Linked DNA regions of Homo sapiens: all the other regions are linked to region 7. Evidence: promoter capture Hi-C in 16 types of primary human blood cells and fetal thymus (Javierre and others, 2016). All regions are on one chromosome and are shown on one strand. Each heading gives the region's core, a stretch centred on a gene start or on the middle of the fragment in contact. The rest is flanking DNA. Distances are from core to core; before and after follow the strand shown. Region 1 overlaps PJA2 (praja ring finger ubiquitin ligase 2). Region 2 has its middle 37 kb from the start of MAN2A1. Region 3 overlaps PJA2 (praja ring finger ubiquitin ligase 2). Region 4 overlaps LOC105379117 (a long non-coding RNA gene). Region 5 overlaps LOC105379117 (a long non-coding RNA gene). Region 6 overlaps LOC105379117 (a long non-coding RNA gene). Region 7 holds the start of FER (FER tyrosine kinase).

Evidence for each region. The method cuts DNA at HindIII sites, captures the fragments that hold promoters and counts their contacts. A CHiCAGO score of 5 or more calls a contact.
Region 1: a fragment that was not itself captured here is called in contact with the fragment with the promoter of FER in region 7 in 1 of 17 cell types (total CD8 T cells); the score reaches 5.4 in total CD8 T cells.
Region 2: a fragment that was not itself captured here is called in contact with the fragment with the promoter of FER in region 7 in 1 of 17 cell types (monocytes); the score reaches 5.2 in monocytes.
Region 3: a contact is called between a fragment that was not itself captured here and the fragment with the promoter of FER in region 7, in 8 of 17 cell types (naive CD8 T cells, total CD4 T cells, total CD8 T cells and 5 more). The highest score is 7.2, in naive CD8 T cells.
Region 4: a fragment that was not itself captured here is called in contact with the fragment with the promoter of FER in region 7 in 1 of 17 cell types (monocytes); the score reaches 6.0 in monocytes.
Region 5: a fragment that was not itself captured here is called in contact with the fragment with the promoter of FER in region 7 in 3 of 17 cell types (monocytes, total B cells and naive B cells); the score reaches 7.6 in monocytes.
Region 6: a contact is called between a fragment that was not itself captured here and the fragment with the promoter of FER in region 7, in 3 of 17 cell types (endothelial precursors, monocytes and erythroblasts). The highest score is 6.6, in endothelial precursors.

The regions. Positions count from the first base shown.
Region 1 is chr5:109,363,373-109,366,336 of GRCh38, reverse strand. All of the region lies in intron 5 of PJA2 (praja ring finger ubiquitin ligase 2), which reads left to right. Among named protein-coding and RNA genes, the nearest start is that of PJA2, 45 kb to the left of the region's middle. The HindIII fragment of the contact is 239 bases long and covers 1,335-1,573 here.
Region 2 is chr5:109,651,221-109,654,167 of GRCh38, reverse strand. No RefSeq gene overlaps it. Among named protein-coding and RNA genes, the nearest start is that of MAN2A1, 37 kb to the left of the region's middle. The HindIII fragment of the contact is 6,499 bases long and covers 1-2,947 here.
Region 3 is chr5:109,383,152-109,386,190 of GRCh38, reverse strand. PJA2 (praja ring finger ubiquitin ligase 2) reads left to right here. Exons shown (of 10, transcript NM_014819.5): 2 at 2,671-2,788. The coding sequence starts at 2,758. Among named protein-coding and RNA genes, the nearest start is that of PJA2, 25 kb to the left of the region's middle. The HindIII fragment of the contact is 2,699 bases long and covers 235-2,933 here.
Region 4 is chr5:109,496,884-109,500,124 of GRCh38, reverse strand. The region is part of intron 4 of LOC105379117 (a long non-coding RNA gene); the gene reads right to left. Among named protein-coding and RNA genes, the nearest start is that of PJA2, 89 kb to the right of the region's middle. The HindIII fragment of the contact is 2,227 bases long and covers 847-3,073 here.
Region 5 is chr5:109,461,403-109,464,536 of GRCh38, reverse strand. The region is part of intron 2 of LOC105379117 (a long non-coding RNA gene); the gene reads right to left. Among named protein-coding and RNA genes, the nearest start is that of PJA2, 53 kb to the right of the region's middle. The HindIII fragment of the contact is 4,316 bases long and covers 1-3,134 here.
Region 6 is chr5:109,480,052-109,483,041 of GRCh38, reverse strand. All of the region lies in intron 4 of LOC105379117 (a long non-coding RNA gene), which reads right to left. Among named protein-coding and RNA genes, the nearest start is that of PJA2, 72 kb to the right of the region's middle. The HindIII fragment of the contact is 2,934 bases long and covers 8-2,941 here.
Region 7 is chr5:108,746,086-108,749,301 of GRCh38, reverse strand. FER (FER tyrosine kinase) reads right to left here and starts at 1,405. Exons shown (of 20, transcript NM_005246.4): 1 at 1,302-1,405. RefSeq lists silencers at 1-268, 399-458, 539-638. The HindIII fragment of the contact is 11,506 bases long and covers 1-3,216 here.

The DNA.
Region 1 (2,964 bases), core at 205-2,704, 620 kb before region 7:
CATTTTTCATCCTTAGACTTGCTCTTAGAGCTAGCAGCCTTGTTTTGATGAATCTATGATTACATATTTATTTTCTCTAACCTGGATTTTATTTTCTAACAGTGATTCAGACTATTTAGTAAGGTAGTTTTTGTATTACCATGATGTGTGTAGATCACAAGTCTCTTTCCAATTAATATATTTTGCATTCAGAATGATGTATTTCATTCAGAATGATGTAGTACACCAAATGTCAATTGCATAATTATGACAACCTAATTAAATCTAGCCCAAAAAAAGTTCTAATATCTGGGATGGAACAGAAAGAAGAATAAAAAATGGGAATAAATTAGTACATTTTCAAAAGCTTGAGTTGTCTAGATAGACACCAATAGAGCTTTGACCAAAGGGAGAAAATAACCTGTACTTTGGTTGAAATTGAGAAAACCTTCAAGGTTTTAAAATTTGTTAAGCATCTGCTAAACATCTGTTAGTTTTAGCTATCTTTAGGCTAAATATACAAACAACTGTGTGACTCCTTAATAATTGGTCACATGACTCATGAAACTAAAAAAATTCTTTTCACTATTGTACTTTGCATAATTAAAGGGATGGTTTCTGAAATACCAGTAAGAGTGAATACAGATTTAATGACACAAGTTTGAGTGCTTTGGAAATATTTAATGAATTGCTAACAGTTTATTGCTTGGGTAGCTATTTCTGGTTGAACTTCTCTTGATAAACAGATGAAATTACAGTTGTTTTAAAAAAAAAAGGATTCATACAACAATAAAAAGTGAGTTTAGACAGTATGGAAAGACCAATTAAAAACCATTATAACCAGCTTCCTTTTTGAACTTCTAAAGATCTTCCGTACACATAAAAGCATATATGTGTACACGTTCCATTTCATTTTTTATGCAACCGGTAGCACATTGTGTAGACATATGTGTACACCTTGGTTTCGTTATTTGTTTTGTTTATAGATCTGTTTTTTAGATTGTTCCATATTCATATAGATTTCCTTTATTCATTTTAAGTCTGCATAGTTCTACCTTGTTTTGCTTAAAGTCACATATTCTAAGAAGCTCGTATAAAGTTAAGTCAGAACTTACTGTATACTACTACATGAGTATACCAGTTTCATTTGGTGGACAGTTTTGGCTATTGTGAGTAATGCTGAAGAAAAAATAAAAAACACATTGTACATGTTTAGGAGAAATAACTGGAAGCCGAACCACTAGGTCAGTGAGTGTGCATAAACCTAATCTATAGCTTTTGCCGGGTTTCTCTACAAAGAACTTAAATTAGTCACTTTCTTACCAACACTATATGAATTGCCTTTCTTCAAAGCTTTCTTCAGAGCTTCACCAACACACAGGGTATTATCAGAATTTTTTATTTTTGCTAATAGTTGAAACATATTTCAGTTGTTTTAATTTGCATTTTGCTTATTATAAATGAGGCAGAGCATCTCTTTATATATTTAAGGGCTATTTGAATTTCCTTTTCTGCTAATTATTATATCCTTTGCCTCCTTTCTGTTGATATATATTGATGTTTTTCTTACAGTTTTTTTTTTACATTTTAAGCTTCTATTGATTAAGGAAAAGCCCTTTGTCTCTCTTGTATTGTAGTTCACGTTTCTCAGTTTGAGTTTTGTGTCCAAATTTTGTGACTTCAGGGTTTTATATCATGCTTAGAATGACACTGAAATTTTTTTTTTTTTTTTTTTGAGACAGAGTCTCGCTCTGTCGCCCAGGCTGGAGTGCAGTGGCGGGATCTCGGCTCACTGCAAGCTCCGCCTCCCGGGTTCACGCCATTCTCCTGCCTCAGCCTCCCAAGTAGCTGGGACTACAGGCGCCCGCCACTACGCCCGGCTAATTTTTTGTATTTTTAGTAGAGACGGGGTTTCACCGTTTTAGCCGGGATGGTCTCGATCTCCTGACCTCGTGATCCGCCCGCCTCGGCCTCCCAAAGTGCTGGGATTACAGGCGTGAGCCACCGCGCCCGGCCGACACTGAAATTTTTATAAAATTTCCTCATGACTATTCTCGTACTCATTGTTTAAGTGAGGTGGGGGGTGCATATACACATGTACTTCAAAAAAGTATAGCTAAAGTTTATTTAAGGGATTTAACCTCCCTCCCTGCGGGCGAATACCCAGTTGTCCCAGTACATTTTGTTGATGAGTCCTTTTTTGTTTTTGTTTTTTGAGACACAGTCTCGCTTTGTTGCCCAGGCTGGAGTGCAGTGGTGTGATCTCAGCTCACTGCAACCTCTGCCTCCTGAGTTCAAGCGATTCTCATGCCTCAGCTTCCTGAGTAGATGGAATTAGGCATGCACCCAGCTAATTTTTTGTAGTTTTAGTAGAGACAGCGTTTCACTATGTTGTCCAGGCTGGTCTCAAACTCCTGGCCTCAAGTGATCTGCCTGACTCGGACTCCCAAAGTGCTGGGATTATAGGGGTGAGCCACTGCACCTAGCCTAATGAGTCCTTTTTTTTCTTCCTGTTTTGAAATGCTTCCTTTATCTCCTCCTTATTTTCTTGATCTGTACCATTGATTTGTGTGTCTCTGTTCCTGTTTAGTTAGTTTCTAGTAGGAGTAGACTGACAGTAAACAAATAAGAAAATGTTAAACAAAAATAAATTTTATAGTTTAAATAAGCAGAGTTATGTGGTAGTCAGTAACTGGAGAGCTATTTAAACTGAATGTTCAAGACAGGCCTCCCTGAGATGGTGACTTATGAATCTGACATGAACATCAAGAAGAAAGTAGCAAAGTAAAAATTCAGTGCAAGAACATTTTAGGTAGAGGAAGTGGCCCCAAGGTAGAAATGATCTCCATGTGTTTCAAAAGTAGGAAGAACAGTAGGAGCATAGTAGCTGGGGAAGAGTGATGAGAGATGCTGTTGGAGAAGTGGGCTGAGCAGAAAGCATGTGTTATGTAGGGATTTGAAGGCCAGGTTGAGGAATTCAGATTT
Region 2 (2,947 bases), core at 181-2,680, 900 kb before region 7:
TATATAAATATACTTTCTTGAGGACAGGGGAAACTTAAGGATGGACCAATAACAATGATGATAATATCATCCCAAAGACATTTGAGCCAGGAAATCAGAGAAGAGAAGAGGTTACTGGGAAACTGTGCTAGTCAGGCCCTTTGTTGACATTGTGTCACTGAACTCTGACAACCCTGAGTGTTAGTGGGTATTATTTCTGTTTTGAGGATGAAGAAACAGAAATTCAGGAAAGGTGAGTTTTGCTTACAATCATAGAGGTAGATTTCAACTAACTCTTGTTGTTTCTGAAGTCAATGATACTTCATTGCGTCTGTCTACTTTTAACAAGAACTAACATTTGTGGAGCACTTTATAGTCTAGAAAGCCCTGTCACATGCACCAACTCCTTTGATCCTCGGGAGCCCACCTGAGGTGAGCATAGCAGTAACAACATTTTCACTTACACATGAAGGCACTGTGGATCTGAGAGGCCGTGTGTTCTCTGAGGTCACAAGGATATCATGTGGCTGAATTGAGACTAGAAACCAGGTTTTCTGAAAAGCTAAAATTCCTTTATTCTTTCTTCCTAACCTTATTAGAATATATCCTATAGGATATGAGTGAGCAAGGGGGCAATACAGTGGATAGTGAACTCTAGTTCCAGGAATAAAAGAACGATAGAAGTCGTAGGCGAGGAGGCAATTAACCATGGGAACTTCTAAATAGGCAAATAGGAGCAAGGAGGGAAGAGGCCTTGACTTTTTGACATTTTGGCAAAGATCAGAACAACTAGCACACACTGTGTAAAAAAAATCCTCTGTCTCAAACTGATTCATTCATTCAATAAATTCTTAATGAATGCTTAATGTGCGAAGCAAGGAGGGGTCCAAGAGTGAGAAATATGGATGCAGGCCAGCTAGACACACTGAGAGCATGGTGTGGAGAGGAAGCAGTAACACTGCTTTTCATGCCAATCTTGGCTCTTCTTACACTGGCTAGAGGTGGGGGACAGCTAGTTTGCCAGTTCGTGGTGTAAATTCTCCCACCTGTGGCTGATTGTAAGCTATCAAGGTGATGGGAATTGGCTCACAAAATTCCTGAAAATTTAACAATCAGTTCTCCAGGCTCAGCACACTGCTGAAACCATCCCCTACCCCACTCACCCTACCCTCCTCACATAGTTAACAGTGGAAATTATTATTTCTTACAAGTTCTAAAGGATTTCAGGAACGGTTTCCAGTACTAGGAGGGGAACATCAAAGCTGAGAAACTGCACGGCAGTTTGAGTTTTAGCCCAGAGTGACAGAAGTCAAGGCAAAGGAATTCAGTAATACTCCAAAGCACATCTATTGAGTCTTGCAAGAAGACAGGCTGAAGCAAATTTAGAGCCTGCTGAAGATCTAGAAGTATGCATCCCCACTCCAAGAGATAGACCACTTCAGCAAGCCCAAGTTTTATCACATGAGATTCTTACCTGGGAGACAAAACACGGTGATCCATGAATGGACCACGTTGGTCTGCATTTGGCCGAAAATACACCCTTAAAATTGTCAATAAGTAGATTGGACAGAGAGCAGGGGCTGGGTTCAGAAAGTGAGAAACTTCCGGGGAGAGAATGCAGGCGAGGACCCAGAAGGCAGAGTGGGAAGAACACCAAAGCCTCATGAATCCTACTTCATAATTTTGCCTGAGGCTGGTGAAATATGCACATGTTGAGCTATCAACAGATATAAAGGGATAATGTAATAAAACCTGGTCAAAAAATAAAGTAAGGTAACATGGAAGGACTTCTGGTCTCCTATCTTTTCTAATAACCTTGCAAAAGACATGTGACAGCAAATAAGAGTTTACAGCTGTATGGCTTCCCATAGAGATTAAAGGCTAGGCTTGGCAATACTCTGCAGTACTTAGCAGCATGTGTGAAATTACTCGTGGAAATGCTTCTCATTCTGTGCATTTTATTTATTTTTTTAACCATAGTATGAGACTGAATTCTTTCTAGATGCAGTAAAATGAACCACCAGATTGTTTTCAGGGATAGCACAAAAACCTCTACACACTTAACTAAAAAACATTAAAAGTGATGTTTGGTACTACATAAAAGTTCCTGAAGACCTGCTCAATTGGAAATTGTTTATGTAATGCTTGAAGGCATTTAATAGTCAGAAATGTTGCAAATTCATAATGAGAAATTGGTCAAATGAGTTGGTGGTGATAATATATTAATTCTTTCATTAATACAAAATATATAAATAAAACAGTACAAGATCTTTGCTTGTTAAATAAATGACACAAAAAACCAACAACCTAGATGAGATGGCACTTAGCCTCAAGGATGAGCCTATATCCGCTGCTATTCACACAGATGAAAAGATGATGGTAAAGGACAGAAAGCACAAAACTCAAATATAGTAGTTTATCATCATCTATTTGCCAATAACACATAATGTTTGACTGGTTAAATAGCATAACTAACATATGCATAAAGGCTCTTCAGAAACAATACATTAACATAAATTTTGGGCAACCTGGGATGGTTTCTACAACAATGTCTCAAATAATAAATTCAGTTAGACAAGAGTATATGAGAATATACTTCAATGCATAGCCCTATTTTGTAATTCTTGGCTACAGTATCCACTTATCCCCCCCCATAATTAGAAATTACAATTTGACAATATAACAAATGAACATCAAAATTCAATAGAGGCTTCTTTTAGAAGCTAGATTTTCCTCTTCTTTATATATTTATTACTACAATCATGCCCAGCTGTTATTCCAAATGACACTAAGTTCCAATACTCTGATAATCCAAGTTCCTAATTAAAATTAGAAAAAAAATTACACCCCACTACATAAAAAAATCAGAGACCCTCACAACATACAGTTCAAACAAGTTACCTGGAGAGCCTAATTTGACTACTATTTTTGTTTGTTTTCTTTAAATTATAAAATCAACATAAAATCA
Region 3 (3,039 bases), core at 335-2,834, 640 kb before region 7:
TTAAGCATCCCTAATTCAAAAATTTAACATTTGAAAAATGTTCCAAAATCTGAAACTTTTTTTTTTTTTTGAGACAGAGTCTCACTGACCTCAGGTGATTGCTTGCCTTGGCCTTCCAAAGTGCTGGGATTACAGGTGTGAGCAACTGCACCTGGCCCCAAAATCTGAAACATTTTTACTGCCAATATGGCACCATAATTTTAACATTCCACACATCAGTACTTAACAGAAGCTTTATTTCATGCACACAATTATTAAAAGTATTGTATAAAATTACTTTCAGACTGTGTGTGTAAGATGTGTAGGAAACAAGTGAATTTTCTGTTTAGACTTGGATGTCATCCCCACGATATCTCATTATGTATATGCAAATATTCAAAGATTTGAAAAAATCCCAAATCCGCACTTCTGGTTCCAAGCATTTTGGAAAAGGGATACTCAATCTCTGCTTCTTTTTCCCTGGCCTCTTCATATTTGATTTTCTCAGGGCTTAACTTCACTTCTCCATGTACACCTAGAGATCTCATCCAAGTTCATACCTGTTTTGGTATAATCTATACACTGACAACTCCCAAATTATACTAACAGCTCATAATTCTTCAGTCAACACCAGACTCCTATTTAATATTTCCATTTGAATGTCTAATAGATATCTCAAACTTAACTCATCCAAAACTGAACTGAATATATTTTCTTCAAATCTGGCTCTTCCACAATTTTTCCTACATTAATTGAAATTTACTCCATTTTTCCCATTGCCCAGCCTGTAAAACCTGGAGTCAACCTCGACCTTCTTTCATATCCTATATTAGTAAATTTTGTTGATTGTATTTTTACAATATGTCCAGAATCTGGTCATTTCTTACCATCTTTATTTTAACCCTGGTCCAAACCACTATGATCTCTTACCAGTATTATTTTGATAGCTTTTTAACAGTGCTCCCTGCTTTAGACCTCATTCCTCTTCATGCTATTCAATACAGTAGCCAGAGCATTCTTCTTAAAACAGAAGTCAAATATCTCTTCTGTGGTCAGAACTTTGATGGTTTTCCATCTCAGAATAAAACGCACATTTCAGCCAGGCACTGTGGCTCATGCCTGTAATCCCAGCACTTTGGGTGGCCAAGGCAGGTGGATCACGTGGTCAGGAGTTTGAGACCAGCCTGACCAATATGGTGAAACCCTGTCTCTACTAAAAATACAAAAATTAGCCGGGCATGGTGGCACACGCCTACAGTCCCAGCTACTGGGAGGCTGAGGCAGGAGAATCACTTGAACCCGTGAGGTGGAAGTTGCAGTGAGCCGAGATCAAGCCCCTGCACTCCAGCCTGGGCGACAGAGCAAGACTCGCCCTCAAAAAAAAAAAAGTTAAAACACTGTTAATTAGCACCTATGTTTTTGCCAGTATGTTAAGATTATTATTATTTTTATATTCCTTTTCTCTTTAGCTGTTGCTAACAGCCTCTTTTGATTCAGATACTTTAAAGGATCATAACTTGTTACTGAATTTATAAATTATATGGGTGAATGTGGGTTTGTACTCTTACGTATGTTAATATATATCTGTCTGTGATTAGACAGGTAACATATAAATTAAACTCATTTGCAGAGCTATTGCATTAATGATGAGCAATTAGCAGTAGCTCAAGTGTTTAAATAAATAAGGTGTTTAAATAAAAACTTAACCAAACTTTCAAAAAAACCACAGGTTGCAACTTCTCAAATAGTACTTTTCAAATAGTAAATAAATGCATTAATTTCAAAACAGAAGTTCTTTTTGTATTTGTTCCATGATAAATTGTAGTTTTTCCTGATTGAAAATAGGTTCTTATTTGGGATTAAATTATCTGATCAACTGACTATTGCAAAGAATAAATACATCATTATTTACACACATTAATTATTGTTATAAGCCATTACACATTTTTAAAAAATGAAGTTTGTATTCTTACAGTTACCTTTTAGCAATTCCAGGGCTAAAGGAACTTTACTGCTTGACAGAGAAGCAATGATAGCACAGTGTAGTAGACTCCCAAATAGTTTGGTTACATACCTGAGTCAGTACTTCTGATATTTTTGTTTGTTTACTTACAAATTATGTATGTGTTGTTGTCATTGACAGTCTTAAGGATGATATATACTTAGGCAAGGTTTATCAAGAGCAGATGTAAATCTGTATTTCACATAGCCATTTTGGTATTTCTGAGAGTTTTTGATTGGCTTGTCAAATTGTGTTGTATTTTTCTTGTTTTTATTTATTTTTGGGACGGGATCTCACTTTGTCACCCAGGCCTGGAGTGCAGTGGCATGATCTCGGCTCACTGCAGCCTCCACCTCCTGGGCTCAAGCAATCCTCCCACCACAGCCTCCTGAGGGACTAGAGGTGTGCACCACCACGCCTGGCTAATTTTTGTATTTCTTGCAGAGACAGACTTTCACCATGTTGGCCAGGTTGTTCTCGAATTCCTGAGCTCAAACTGATTTGCTCGCCTTGGCCTGCCAAAGTGCTGTAATCTAAGGCGGATCACAGGCATTTGCCACCATGCTGGCTACATCACATTGTATTTTTCTAAGTTTTATTATAAGACTTCACTAGGAGGAGCAGAAGTATCAGTTTTGCTATTTTTGTGCTTTTATTAATATATTGTTCAATTCATTGTTTCTTTGTAGGAATCTTCTGCGGCTTGTCCATAGTGTGAATAAAAACTAAATCACATCTATAATTCTACTGAACTGGTCACACAGACGCTGCCATATATGTCACAGTACACTGAAAAGGAGCCAGCAGGTAAGGAAAGTCAGTTCTTCTACATTGAGTACTTCTTGTTTTTTCCTCTGGGTACCTTGAGTACCAGTAAGTGACATATGATCATCTGACCTGTGGTCTTACTAAAAGGCTGGTTTTGATCCATATATTGAATATTTGTAAAGCTTAGTTTCTAATTTTTGATAGGTAAAAATAGAAATTCTGGTATTTTCTTTCCATACCCATTTAGCTTGGAAAGCTTTATGCTTTCCACTTCGGAGACTATTCTTTTG
Region 4 (3,241 bases), core at 711-3,210, 750 kb before region 7:
ATAATATAGCTCTACTGGAGGAAGAGAATGAGAAGACTACATACGTGGAGAAGACTAGGGAAATGGAAAAAAAGGGAGCTAGATAGAGTCTCATCTTACATAGCTGGAAGCCAGTTAACAATGCCAGAAACTGAAAAATCAGCAAGAATGCTACTTGGAGTCGTGAAGCCTACATGACAATATAGTCAGTAAAAAAGATCAAAGTGATTGCTTAGGGGAAGAACAAAAACTTCAGGAGGGGTGAGGCAATACTGTGTTTCATAGCAAACGTTGTGGACAACTGGATCTTTAGAGGGTATGATTAACCTTAACAAAAATTAAAATTAAAAGAAAAAAGGATGAGGCAAGGATGAAGACAGTGACAAGCCTCAGTGGAACAGCACTCACAGGGAAGAGGAGATCTGGGTTGGTGATGGTTGGTAAAACTCTTGTCTGTCTCCAGGACCAGTATGATGCATGGCAGGAGAGAAGTGGATGCTCACATGGTGAGCAGAGATACCTGACTTAGTACAAGCCAACAGTGGGATTTAAGGATCCCTGGCTTCCAGCTGTGTCTCGTTTGTTAATTCCTGGCTCTGCCTCTGAATAGATGGATAACCTTGGACAATCTCTGTGTACCCTGACAGCCTGGATGTTTCTCATCCGTCTCATATTCTTCACAGCTGGCAGCAGAGAGCTTTGTAGAGAGTAAGTACACCGATGGTTCCTTATAGATTATTTGGATTGCTATCTTCTTTGGGAAAATGTCCCCTAAATGTAAATAAAAGGATAAAATAAATTTGTATAGAAAAACCTATTTGGAGAATGACAAAACATAGAAAGTTTCAATAATCATCCTATGAAGCTTAATACGTAATAATCTAAACATGGTAAAGCATTTTTGAAATTTCTATGTTGTAATATACTTCAAAAGCCCAACCATTTTTTAACAATTTGTGACTTTTTGAATTATAAAATATACACACTTATTATTAAAAACTTTGGAAAATACAGAAACACATACAGAATTAATGTTGATTCCACCACACAAAAATAATTATTAAAATGTTTAGGTATAAACTTTATCTCATTTACCTTTATATGCACATATGTTTTACAAATTTGTAAATATACTATAAATATTCTATAACCTGATTTTTCAATTAATATAAATACTTCTCCTTATCATTAAATGTTATTCTTACTACCATTTCAATGGCTTCACAATGTTCAAGATATATGATAATTTATTGCCGGTTATATCTCAATACTTTCCATGGTTTGCTTTTATAAATAACACAGTAGCTGAGTAAACTTGTACATAAATTTTTGCACATATCTGTTTATTTTGATGGAAAAAATTCCCACTCGTAGAATTTCTGGAAAAAAGAGAATGTATATTTTTTAAAACTCTTGATATTTAACTACCAAAATATGTCTCCAGTTGACACATTCATCCACAGCCTGCATTTAATACTTTTTAAAATGAACAAATAATTGTACACATTTATGAGACACAACGTGATGTTTTGATATATGTATACATTGTGGAATGATTAAATCAAATTCATTAACATATCTATCACCTTCTCTACTTTTTTGTGGTGAGAACTTTTAAAATCTCTTTTAGCAATTTTGAAATATACATTACTATTAACTATGATCATAGAATCTAAAAAAGTCAAACTTATACTTTTGAATACCCTCAAACTGAACAAATCTTGATTTTTGAAAATAATTCAATTCCTCATTAGATACCCTACTTACACCACTAGAGTATAAACTTCTAGAACTCAGAGACCACATCCTAAAAATTCATGGTTTGTATTCCCCAAAATATCAAGAAAAGATAATTTTATATTAATACCTGGTGAATAAGGTCAGGATCAAACTGGGTGCTGCTGTTTGAGTCAAATTAATATGACTGTAAAATAACAAACTGATTGTGTATATTGCCAACCGGCTTTGAAACATCAATAAATTCTTACTCATAAGCACAGAAAACAATTACTATAGAAAACAAATGGAAGATACATGGGGCTTACCTGTTTCCTAGGTGGCATCTTCAAATTGGTGGGATTTTTTCCTGATTATTCAGAGATGATACTCATAAAAAGAAATCCCCAAAGAATAGAACATGTAGATAATGACAGAAGCACATTCTGGTAAATGTTGTTTTAAACAATGAGACAAAATTGAAGTACACATATAAACATAGATGAAGATGAGTAAAGCAAATCTCAATGAAAAGGTCTAGGAGAAAAATAAGTATTGCTTTTTTGTTGTGTTTTTGTCTTCTAACAACAATAACAAAAAAGGAGCACGATCGAATTCCAAAAGTGGCTTGCAAGACAAGCCTCCTTTAACTGCTGCCTAAGAGTGCTATCCAGGACTTTCAACACTACGATGTGTATTTGTGGGCGTTTGCACCACAGCAGGACAAACAGAAGCCAGAGCCATACTTTTCCAGGTCAGTGAAGAGGTGGTTAGAAGTCAGACACAGCTGTTACAGATGAGCTATTTCTCTTAGAAACAACGGCAATAGGGCTTTGGGCCTCATAAATCTGTTCAGGCTCTGGAAAGCCCTGGAGTTTTACTTTGACCTCTCCAATTGAGGTCATCGCTAGCAATCTACCTGGGACACCTACCTCAGAGCTGTGTCGCACAAAGCCTTTCTTCTGTCACTGCCACCTTCTTCCCTCCATCCCTCTTGACTATACCCTAGATCAAGCCAACCAAGGGTGCTGTTGGAAGAAACCGAGCTCATACTTTGGTGAAAAGGAGACAGCAGTGATATTCCTTGCCTTCTGAACAGGCAGAGCCATGGCAGGCTGCACATCAAGAGTTCAGTCTGCAAGGTGAAACGTGTAAAGAGATGGGGCTGGAAAGATGTATCCTGCACTTTGTTTAAACATCTGTGGATAGGTGTTGAGGTCTCTCAGTTAGTAAAACTTGGCCCTACAGTCAAAATTGTAGAGGGGACAAAGTTTGTCTTCAGTTACAAAAAAATTAGGGATCCTTCAGCACCTACTTCAGTTCAGTTTTCACATTTCTCAGCTCCTTTAAATCCGACAGCATTCCAGGGAGGTAAGCTTACTATTCCCACTTTAACAGATGAAGAAACTGAGCTAAAAAGGAGGAAGTCATGTATCCAAAGTTAACCAATTAATAAATGGAAGGGCCAAAATATAACCTTGAGTCTTATTAGTTCTAAAATCCCTTTTAATATACCCTCCCCATTTTCTATTCACTTGTGTCTCTT
Region 5 (3,134 bases), core at 103-2,602, 720 kb before region 7:
GGTAATAATAAACCAGGGTCATTCCAAATTCCGTGATTGGATGGCCAATTGCATGTGAGTACATGCTTTGTTCAAAGTTTCCATCACGTTCAGGAGGAATCAGAGATGAGTAACAACTCTAATTTGGTTCTCCTTTTCCAAGGTTAACTGGTATTAGAAAAAGTACTTTCAAAGAATCTACACTTAAAACTGTGGCAAAAGCAATGCTTTGTGTTCACCTAATCCTGTTTCATTTTCTTTTCCTGAACACAAGAGAAAAGAGTATTTCATAACTTTCCTTATAGTTAGGCCAGAGAATATGCAACTAATTCTGGTCAATGGCCTGTAAGTAGAAGGAAAGGTGCCTCTTCCACAGTAATTGAGGCCACGTGTTGAGAGTGCAGCACTTCAAGATGGAAGCCACCTGGATCCTGGAGTCACCACATACTAGACAGAATCCTTCTTGCATTGGAACTTTTATGAAAAGGAAAGGTTCTTTTGTTGTGTTAAGTCATAGAGATTTCAGGATATCTATCACAGCAGGATAGCCTAGCCTGTCCTAATGCAATTCAGAAACAAATTTTCAATATAAGTATGGAAAAAATTATATGATTGACACTTCCTCTTAAAAGAAAATCAAAATTGTGAAAATGAGTTTATTTTCTCTTTAATTGTATAAAATATAGGTTATATTGTAATTATAATCGTATTTATGCCTAAAATAGAGAATGAATCAAATGTTGGACTTTTAGCAGGTTTTGTTTAAGGACTCTTATATGTCTAATAGCCTTTGAAGGCTACTCTAAAGATGGAGTATGTCTCCTTCTCAATCTTTGGAATTACTAAATTGAAATGTAATACACATCCATTTAGGATCCCTCTGAGGTAAAAGTATGAAACTTAACGATTGGATATTAGAGAAAGTCTTACATTTAAAAAGGTTTAAAACAGTTCAAGTTCTTAGAAAATCCTTTTAGGAGTTGCATAAAAGTTCATATATAAGAAAATCACATTTTTTATGCTTCTTCGAAAGAATAGGTACAGTACTGTTATTTTACTGAACTTCGGAGAGTTCATAAAAATTCCTACTTCTGGCTTTTTATTTATTTATTTATTTATTTTAACAGGGTGTTTCTGCTGTGAACAGAGGGCACATAGCAGCTGTTCTTTTTTTTTTAATACTTTAAGTTTTAGGGTACATGTGCACAACGTGCAGGTTAGTTACATATGTATACATGTGCCATGTTGGTGTGCAGCACCCAGTAACTCGTCATTTAACATTAGGTATATCTCCTAATGTTATCCCTCCCCCCTCCCCCCACCCCACAACAGGCCCCAGTGTGTGATGTTCCTCTACCTGTGTCCATGTGTTCCCATTGTTCAATTCCCACCTATGAGTGAGAACATGCAGTGTTTGGTTTTTTGTCCTTGCGATAGGTTGCTGAGAATGATGGTTTCCAGCTTCATCCATGTGCCTACAAAGGACATGAACTCATCATTTTTTATGGCTGCATAGTATTCCATGGTGTATATGTGCCACATTTTCTTAATCCAGTCTATCATTCTTGGACATTTGGATTGGTTCCAAGTCTTTGCTATTGTGAATTGTGCTGCAATAAACATACTTGTGCATGTGTTTTTATAGCAGCATGATTTATAATCCTTTGGGTATATACCCAGAAATGGGATGGCTGGGTCAAATGGTATTTCTAGTTCTGGATCCCTGAGGAATCGCCACACTGACTTCCACAATGGTTGAACTAGTTTACAGTCCCACCAACAGTGTAAAAGTGTTGCTATTTCTCCACATCCTCTCCAGCACCTGTTGTTTCCTGACTTTTTAATGATTGCCATTCTAACTGGTGTGAGATGGTATCTCATTGTGGTTTTGATTTGCATTTCTCTGATGGCCAGTGATGATGAGCATTTTTTCATGTGTTTTTTGGCTGCATAAATGTCTTCTTTTGAGAAGTGTCTGTTCATGTCCTTTGCCCACTTTTTGATGGGGTTGTTTGTTTTTTTTCTTGTAAATTTGTTTGAGTTCATTGTAGATTCTGGATATTAGCCCTTTGTCAGATGAGTAGGTTGCAAAAATTTTCTCCCATTTTGTAGGTTGCCTGTTCACTCTGATGGTAGTTTCTTTTGCTGTGCAGGAGCTCTTTAGCTTCATTAGATCCCATTTGTCAATTTCGGCTTCTGTTGCCATTGCTTTTGGTGTTTTAGACATGAAGTCCTTGCCCATGCTTATGTCCTGAATGGTAATGCCTAGGTTTTCTTCTAGGGTTTTTATGGTTTTAGGTCTAACGTTTAAGTCTTTAATCCATCTTGAATTAATTTTTGTATGAGGTGTCAGGAAGGGATCCAGTTTCAGCTTTCTACATATGGCTAGCCAGTTTTCCCAGCACCATTTATTAAATAGGGAATCCTTTCCCCATTGCTTGTTTTTCTCAGGTTTGTCAAAGATCAGATAGTTGTAGATATGCGGCATTATTTCTGAGGGCTCTGTTCTGTTCCATTGATCTATATCTCTGCTTTGGTACCAGTACCATGCTGTTTTGGTTACTGTAGCCTTGTAGTATAGTTTGAAGTCAGGTAGTGTGATGCCTCCAGCTTTGTTCTTTTGGCTTAGGATTGACTTGGCGATGTGGGCTCTTTTTTGGTTCCATATGAACTTTAAAGTAGTTTTTCCCAATTCTGTGAAGAAAGTCATTGGTAGCTTGATGGGGATGGCATTGAATCTATAAATTACCTTGGGCAGTATGGCCATTTTCACGATATTGATTCTTCCTACTCATGAGCATGACATGTTCTTCCATTTGTTTGTATCCTCTTTTATTTCATTGAGCAGTGGTTTGTAGTTCTCATTGAAGAGGTCCTTCATGTCCCTTGTAAGTTGGAACCTAGGTATTTTATTCTCTTTGAAGCAATTGTGAATGAGAGTTCACTCATGATTTGGCTCTCTGTTTGTCTGTTATTGGTGTATAAGAATGCTTGTGATTTTTGCACATTGATTTTGTATCCGGAGACTTTGCTGAAGTTGCCTATCAACTAAAGGAGATTTTGGGCTGAGACGATGGGGTTTTCTAGATATGTCATCTGCAAACAGGGACAATTTGACTTCCTCTTTTCCTAATTGAATACCCTTTATTTCCTTC
Region 6 (2,990 bases), core at 225-2,724, 730 kb before region 7:
AAAAGCTTAGGGTGTAGATACATAGGAATGTAGAGGAGTTTACCTAAATAGCTTGCTTACTCATGTGGTCCTAAGACCAACCTTTGATCATCGGCAGGCACATGACTGCTCTTTACGCAGGAGGTTGGCAATGTTAATTACCCTCTAGTGTTGTTTACTGGAGACATTTGTCATTTAATCTGTACTAAATAAATGCGAACTTCACCAGCTTGTCGGGGCCAAAGCTGTGGACTCAGGCAGCAAAGCCCCTTAGCTGCTCTGACAGGCAAAATATCTGTGTCAGTGTATGTCTTTCATCCGTCACTGGGTCAGGGTCTGCACGTCAGACCCAGCATCTTCCCAGTATGTCATCCCAGTGCTAACACTCCCTTCCTCCTCAAAACAAAACAAAATAAAACCCAACCCTAATAAAACTTTCATTGCTCCTTGTTTAATTCAAATCTGTCTTTCAGGGACAGTCCGATTAGAGTGAGTGAGGTCACATGACTATACCCTAATACAAGGGGTTTGGGAATGGAAATTTTCTGGCTCCCACTTTAGGAAGGTGAGACACATTATGTATGAAATTATCACAGTGTAGGATGCATGTTCAAAGACATTGAGTAGCTCAAGTGATGAATGAACATTATAGGGTCAGTCATTTTGAGTGTTCTGTATACACTGACTGTGAATTTCTGTCTCTAAGGAGAAATTTCTGCCATTAAGTACTTCTTGGCATGCTGATGAAGGACTCCACATTTCCCAGATTCCAGGACTGCTCAAACCCTTTGCTGCCACAAAGAAACCTTGCCATTCATGAAACATGTAGTCCCACTCCCTTCCTTTCTTCCCTCTCCAATATACCCAGCATTAGCATGGGGCTATAAAGATGATAAAAATTAAAGTGTGTGTGTGTGTGTATTACTAAATATCACATACTGTCATGGGGTGGCAGGTTCATTACTTCTCCTCTGGTATAAGGTTAGATATAATTGTAACAACAGAAAAAGGAATATATTGTTTTTTTAGAATTTTTTTTTTGAGATAGGGTCTTGCTCTGTAGCTCAGGCTGGAGTGCAGTGGCATGATCTTGGCTTACTGTAACTTCTGCCTCCTGGGTTCAAGCAATTCTCCTGCCTCAGCCTCCTGACTAGCTGGGACTGCAGGCGTACCCCACCATGCCAGGCTAATTTTTTTATTTTTGATAGGGACAGGGTTTCACCATGATGGCCAGGCTGGTCTCGAACTCCTGACCTCAAGTGACCTGCCCGCCTCGGCCTCCCAAAGTGTTGGGATTACAGGTGTGAGCCACCACACCCGGCATGTTTCTCAGAAATTTGATGGCATAAGAGGGAAATAGGATGCATGGATAAGATAATTAATTATAAAAGGTCTTGGAATGCAAGAAAATCATATATAATTTCACCATTATTAGTCATCCAAACCTAAGGCAGAATGCTAATTACTCACTCTAATTTAAAAAATAATGATTAAAATGGTCAGTGTTTCCAAATAATAACTGCAAAATAGTTAGATGGGAGGAAAATAAACCTATTCTTCAGTAGTGTATTTAGAAACCTTATCAATCTTTGATATTCATAGCTAAGGAGTCAATCTGCTTTGTAAATTTAATTATAAGCCAAATAATTAGTGTATGGAGAGAATTAATAAAAATATGTCAAGGTAATCACAAACCAGCTTCAAATAACTGATTTAACTAATGATGAGTTTTTCACTGAAACATCTGTATATGCTGGAGAGTTTCTCTAATATTATTTGATTTTAAAATATCTTTTAAAATTACAAATGCAGTATGTTTATGACAAAAAATTTAGAAACCTAGATAAGCAAAAAAAGAAATTACTCATTACCTCATGTATATTAGTCTGCTCAGGAGGCCATAGCAAAATAACGTAGACCAAGTGGCTTGAGCGGCAGACATTTACTTTCTTCAGTTCTAGAGGCTAGTAGTCCCAGATCAAGGCACCAGTCAATTTGCTTGATGAGGGCTTTCCTCCTGGCTTATGGGTGGCCACCTTCTTGCTGTGTTCTTACACGGGGCAGAGTAGGGAGAGGGTGGGGTGAGTGTGTACCCAGAAGCTCTCTGAAGCATTCTTAGAAGCATTATTTCCATCCTGAAGGTCCCACCCATATGACCTGTTTTAACCTTAATTACCTCCCAAAGACCCTGTTATATTGGTGGTTCAGGCTTCAACATATGAATCTGGGGAGGAAACAACATTCAGCCTATATCATGTTCAGGATAGAACCCCTGTTGAGTGTCGTCATTCTGTATTTTGCATAAGGAAGGAAACAAATATTGTAAAAAATGAAAATATACTGATTTGAAACTCTGCTTTTCATCTAACACTATTCTGAGAATATCTTTCCACTTAATTGAGTAATTACATAATTAAATATGTAAAAAGTATTTTAAATGTCTTCCACAATTTTTCTGTAACATTAGGGTTAATAACAACATAATAACTGTTAATAACAATGTATGGTTAATAACTACACTCTTAGTTTCCCAATTCACCTCTTGGTGGACATTTACATTTTCCTAATGTGTAATATTTTACCAATAGTTCTATGAAGTGCTATGAAGAACAATCTTGTGACTATTTCTTTGTTGTATCCCTATAATCATTCTGAGTAGTGGATTTCTGGGGCAAAGACTATGCATATTTTAAGACTTTCAATAGCATTGCCAAATGTCCCTTGATAAAGTTTATTCCAAATGTATTCCCAAGTAGCAAAATAAGAATGCCTGTTTTTTATGTATTCACCCTTAACTTATGTTAACATAGGGTAGTGTCATTTAAAAAACTTTTACCAGAGATATTACACTGTCACTTTAATTTAGTATTTAAATGTTCTATAGAAATTTTAATCAACCTTTACACTTAGAGGTTCCATCTATCATCAGAAAAGTCTTCCCCACCAAAAAATTAAATAAGCTTTCATATATATTTCACTCTAAACTTTTAAAGCCTGGTTGTATAGATTTA
Region 7 (3,216 bases), core at 156-2,655:
GGTGGGAGGGGCGGCCCTCGTGGGGCTGGGTGTGTAGCCCGGCCCAAGCCCCAACCAGGAATGCTCTGCTGCGGGCGGGAGGATGAGCGGATGACCCTGCAGCCAGGGACGGGGGTTGGGGGGGGCGCTGGCTGAGGGCGGAGGAAGAGCCTCGGCACAGCCCCCAACGCCCTGGCCGAATCCCGGGCGCCCCTCTGCGGGCAGGCATTGTTGCCCCCGCTCTAGGCTTGCCTTCCCTCCTCTTCCCCCCTCCCCCCGCGTTGCCCCGGGCAACAGCGCCTACCGCCGGCGGCGCGAAACGCACCTACCTAGAACCTGACAAGCCCGAACCCCTCAGACTCCGGAGCCAGTCACCACCCCGCGTCACGGGGGCTGCCACAGCCAATAGGCGCCACTGTCACGAACCTCTGCAACCAATCCCGCTGCACTCCGGTCTCCGGGCACCCTCGAGGCCTCAGCCAATGGGCAAGAGCGGAAGGCGGGCGCAGCCGCCCGGCCCTCAGCCCCCTCCTCCACTACCTCCCAGGAGGCGGGGAGCGGCCGATTGGCCCGGTCCCCGAAGGGGCAGGACTTGGGCCCTAGGCTGGGTGGGCGCACGCTTAGCCCAAGCTGCGGGCCCTGGGAGTGGAGACGCGGAGCTGCGGTCGCCGCTTTCTGGGCTCGCTCACCAGCCCGGGTGGAGTCCCGAGGTCTGCGCGTTTGTGCCGCTCTCCCCGCCTCGGTAACCTGCTCCTCCCTAGCGGGTGTCCTGGGCTGCCGTGGTGAGATGGGGCCGGAGACGGACGAAGGCCTCACAGGAAACTTTGGGAGGCTCGCCTGGCCGCGGCCGGGAAGTGGCCGGACCGGCGATGATAAGCTGAGGCCGCCTGGAAGGGACTACTCGGCGGGTCGGCAGCCGGAAAGGAATTCGGAGAGTGGGGGCGGAGGCGTGATTAAAATGTTAAGTGTGCCCGGAGGGCGCTGGGCGATCCCTGGAGCTGAAATCTCCGGGAAGGGAAGCTGCTTTAGGGCCGCGAGGCCCCCACCCCTAAAATAGGCACTTTTCAGCCTCAGAATTGGTCACTTTTTCCTGTACGTTCCCACGTTTTACTTGTATCTGTTATTAACGTGGATTGCTTTAGAATGGTTTTCAGCAACTCCAGTTTACTCTGAGTCCCTTAAGGACGGGAACTGTCTTTCAATCCTGTACTCCCAGTGCCTGAGCCTGCCTAAAAATGTTAGAAACTCAATGCTGGAATTGTAATGGATGTTTAAAAGCATACAGCAGGTCCTGGGAGTGGCCCCCTATAATAAATTCTTACCTCTTCGGGAGTCTAGAATGCGTGGAGAACCCAAACGGGTCTGCTCTTCAGTGATGGCCGTTTCTGAAGCGTCCTTCACCAAAAGAATTTGGTGAAAAATGAGTAATGTGAACTACAAGATTATTACTAGGTGATCAGTAACAGTAGGATAGGTATGCGTCATTATTCGAGGGTGTGACCCTCCCATGTTCCTGTAGTAGACTTTTTAAGGCGGTGTTATCTTTTGCATTGGTTGAACCACATAGCGTCAATCCGGTATTTCCCCTCCCTCTCAAAAACTGAGTTACATAGGAGCCAAAGAAGAGTGGTGAATATTTTCTCTAAGCAGGGTTATTTATTTAACCGTAGAGAACAGCCCTACACATAAAAAAACATAAATCTTAAGTTGGACTTTTTTTAAGTCTACTGTTTTAAAGCTAAATAAACAAAAACCAACATAAAAATTTTAAATAAGAGGCTTAATTCTCCCTATTGAAAATGGAGGATGAGATTTCCCGTCCCTTTCTCTCCGAGCATTTGTCTTAGAAAACTTAAGTACTTTCTTAATTGTTAAGTACTTTCTCAACTCTTTGAAATGTGTATAAATCCACTTGAGGACTAGATAGGTCTTGTCAACTGTATGCTCAGTCAGGAATGTCTCTGGACCTTTTTTTTTTTTTTTTTTTTGAAATGCTGCACATATCAACGGAGTAGCATCCTTCCCTATCTCCCAGTTTCTGTGAGAGAGTAGGAGCGTAACTTCGGTGAGCAACTTGCTCCGTGTTGCAAAACTACCTTCCGTCATAAAGACAGGAGAAGTTTGTTTTTCCTCTGGATAAAACCAATTAACTAACACAGATGGTCACCCCAATTATTAAGTAAAGTTAATGTCACAAATGTCAGGTCCTCTTACTTGAGGACTAGTTATTGTTCAACTTGAAAACGTGTATGTAATGGGTCGTATATACTTGGCTATACAAAAGGGCAAGATTTCTGTCTTTGCAATCTCTTAGCAAATTGCCTGTGATGTGTATCACAGTCTCGTTTAATGCTTATTCAGTAATAAAAGTGTTTTGTCTACTAACGTTTGTGGAGAGGATTTCTGGGTTGGGAGATTTTGGTTTTTAATTATATTTTTCCAACAATGCCTATACCCAGAATGTTGGGATGACAAAGTTAAGGAAAGTAGTTACTTCGGAGTTTTTAAATTGTTCTCTAAAATGATGGTTAATGTTTCATATGTATTTCATAGTGATTGTTAAATGCACAAACTGTGGTTCTGTGAGTAAACTTCTTAAAATAGAAGTTAATTTTCTGTGAACATCAAATGTTATAGTATATGTAATGTCAATAAGAATGAAATGAATGAAAATTTGGTTAGGTAAGGCCAAAATACAACTTTGGAGACTGCTTCATGACTGAATACCTTTCCCAAGAACCTTAGAATTTCTCCATTTATACAAAGGGAATCAAAATGTAGAAAGATGTGGTTGGTGAATACGTTATTACATATTTGCAGAAAGTAGCTTTCAATAAAGATATGGTAGAAATAGAGCTGTTTGATACACAACATGTGTGTTTGTGTTAAGGAACCCAAATCTAGAAAAATCAGCAAGAATCTTTCCATATCTACAATTGTTCTCTGAGTTCTCACCTATTCATTCCAAAACCTTAAAAGCTGTCTACCATATGCCAGTCATTGTGCTAGGAAATGCAGTTGTGAAAGAATATACTTGAAGTAAATGAATGTGGCAAAAATCTATGCTGCATTTTTGAAGCATACAAAAATATATAGCAAATCCAGTTTCACATTTTTTTCCTCTGTTGGAATTATCACATTGCATTGCAACACATTTAATAAACACTGTGTGTCACCTTAGTATATATTCCATGTTCTCAAATACCAAACTTTGTCTGTTCTAATAGCATTACTTAC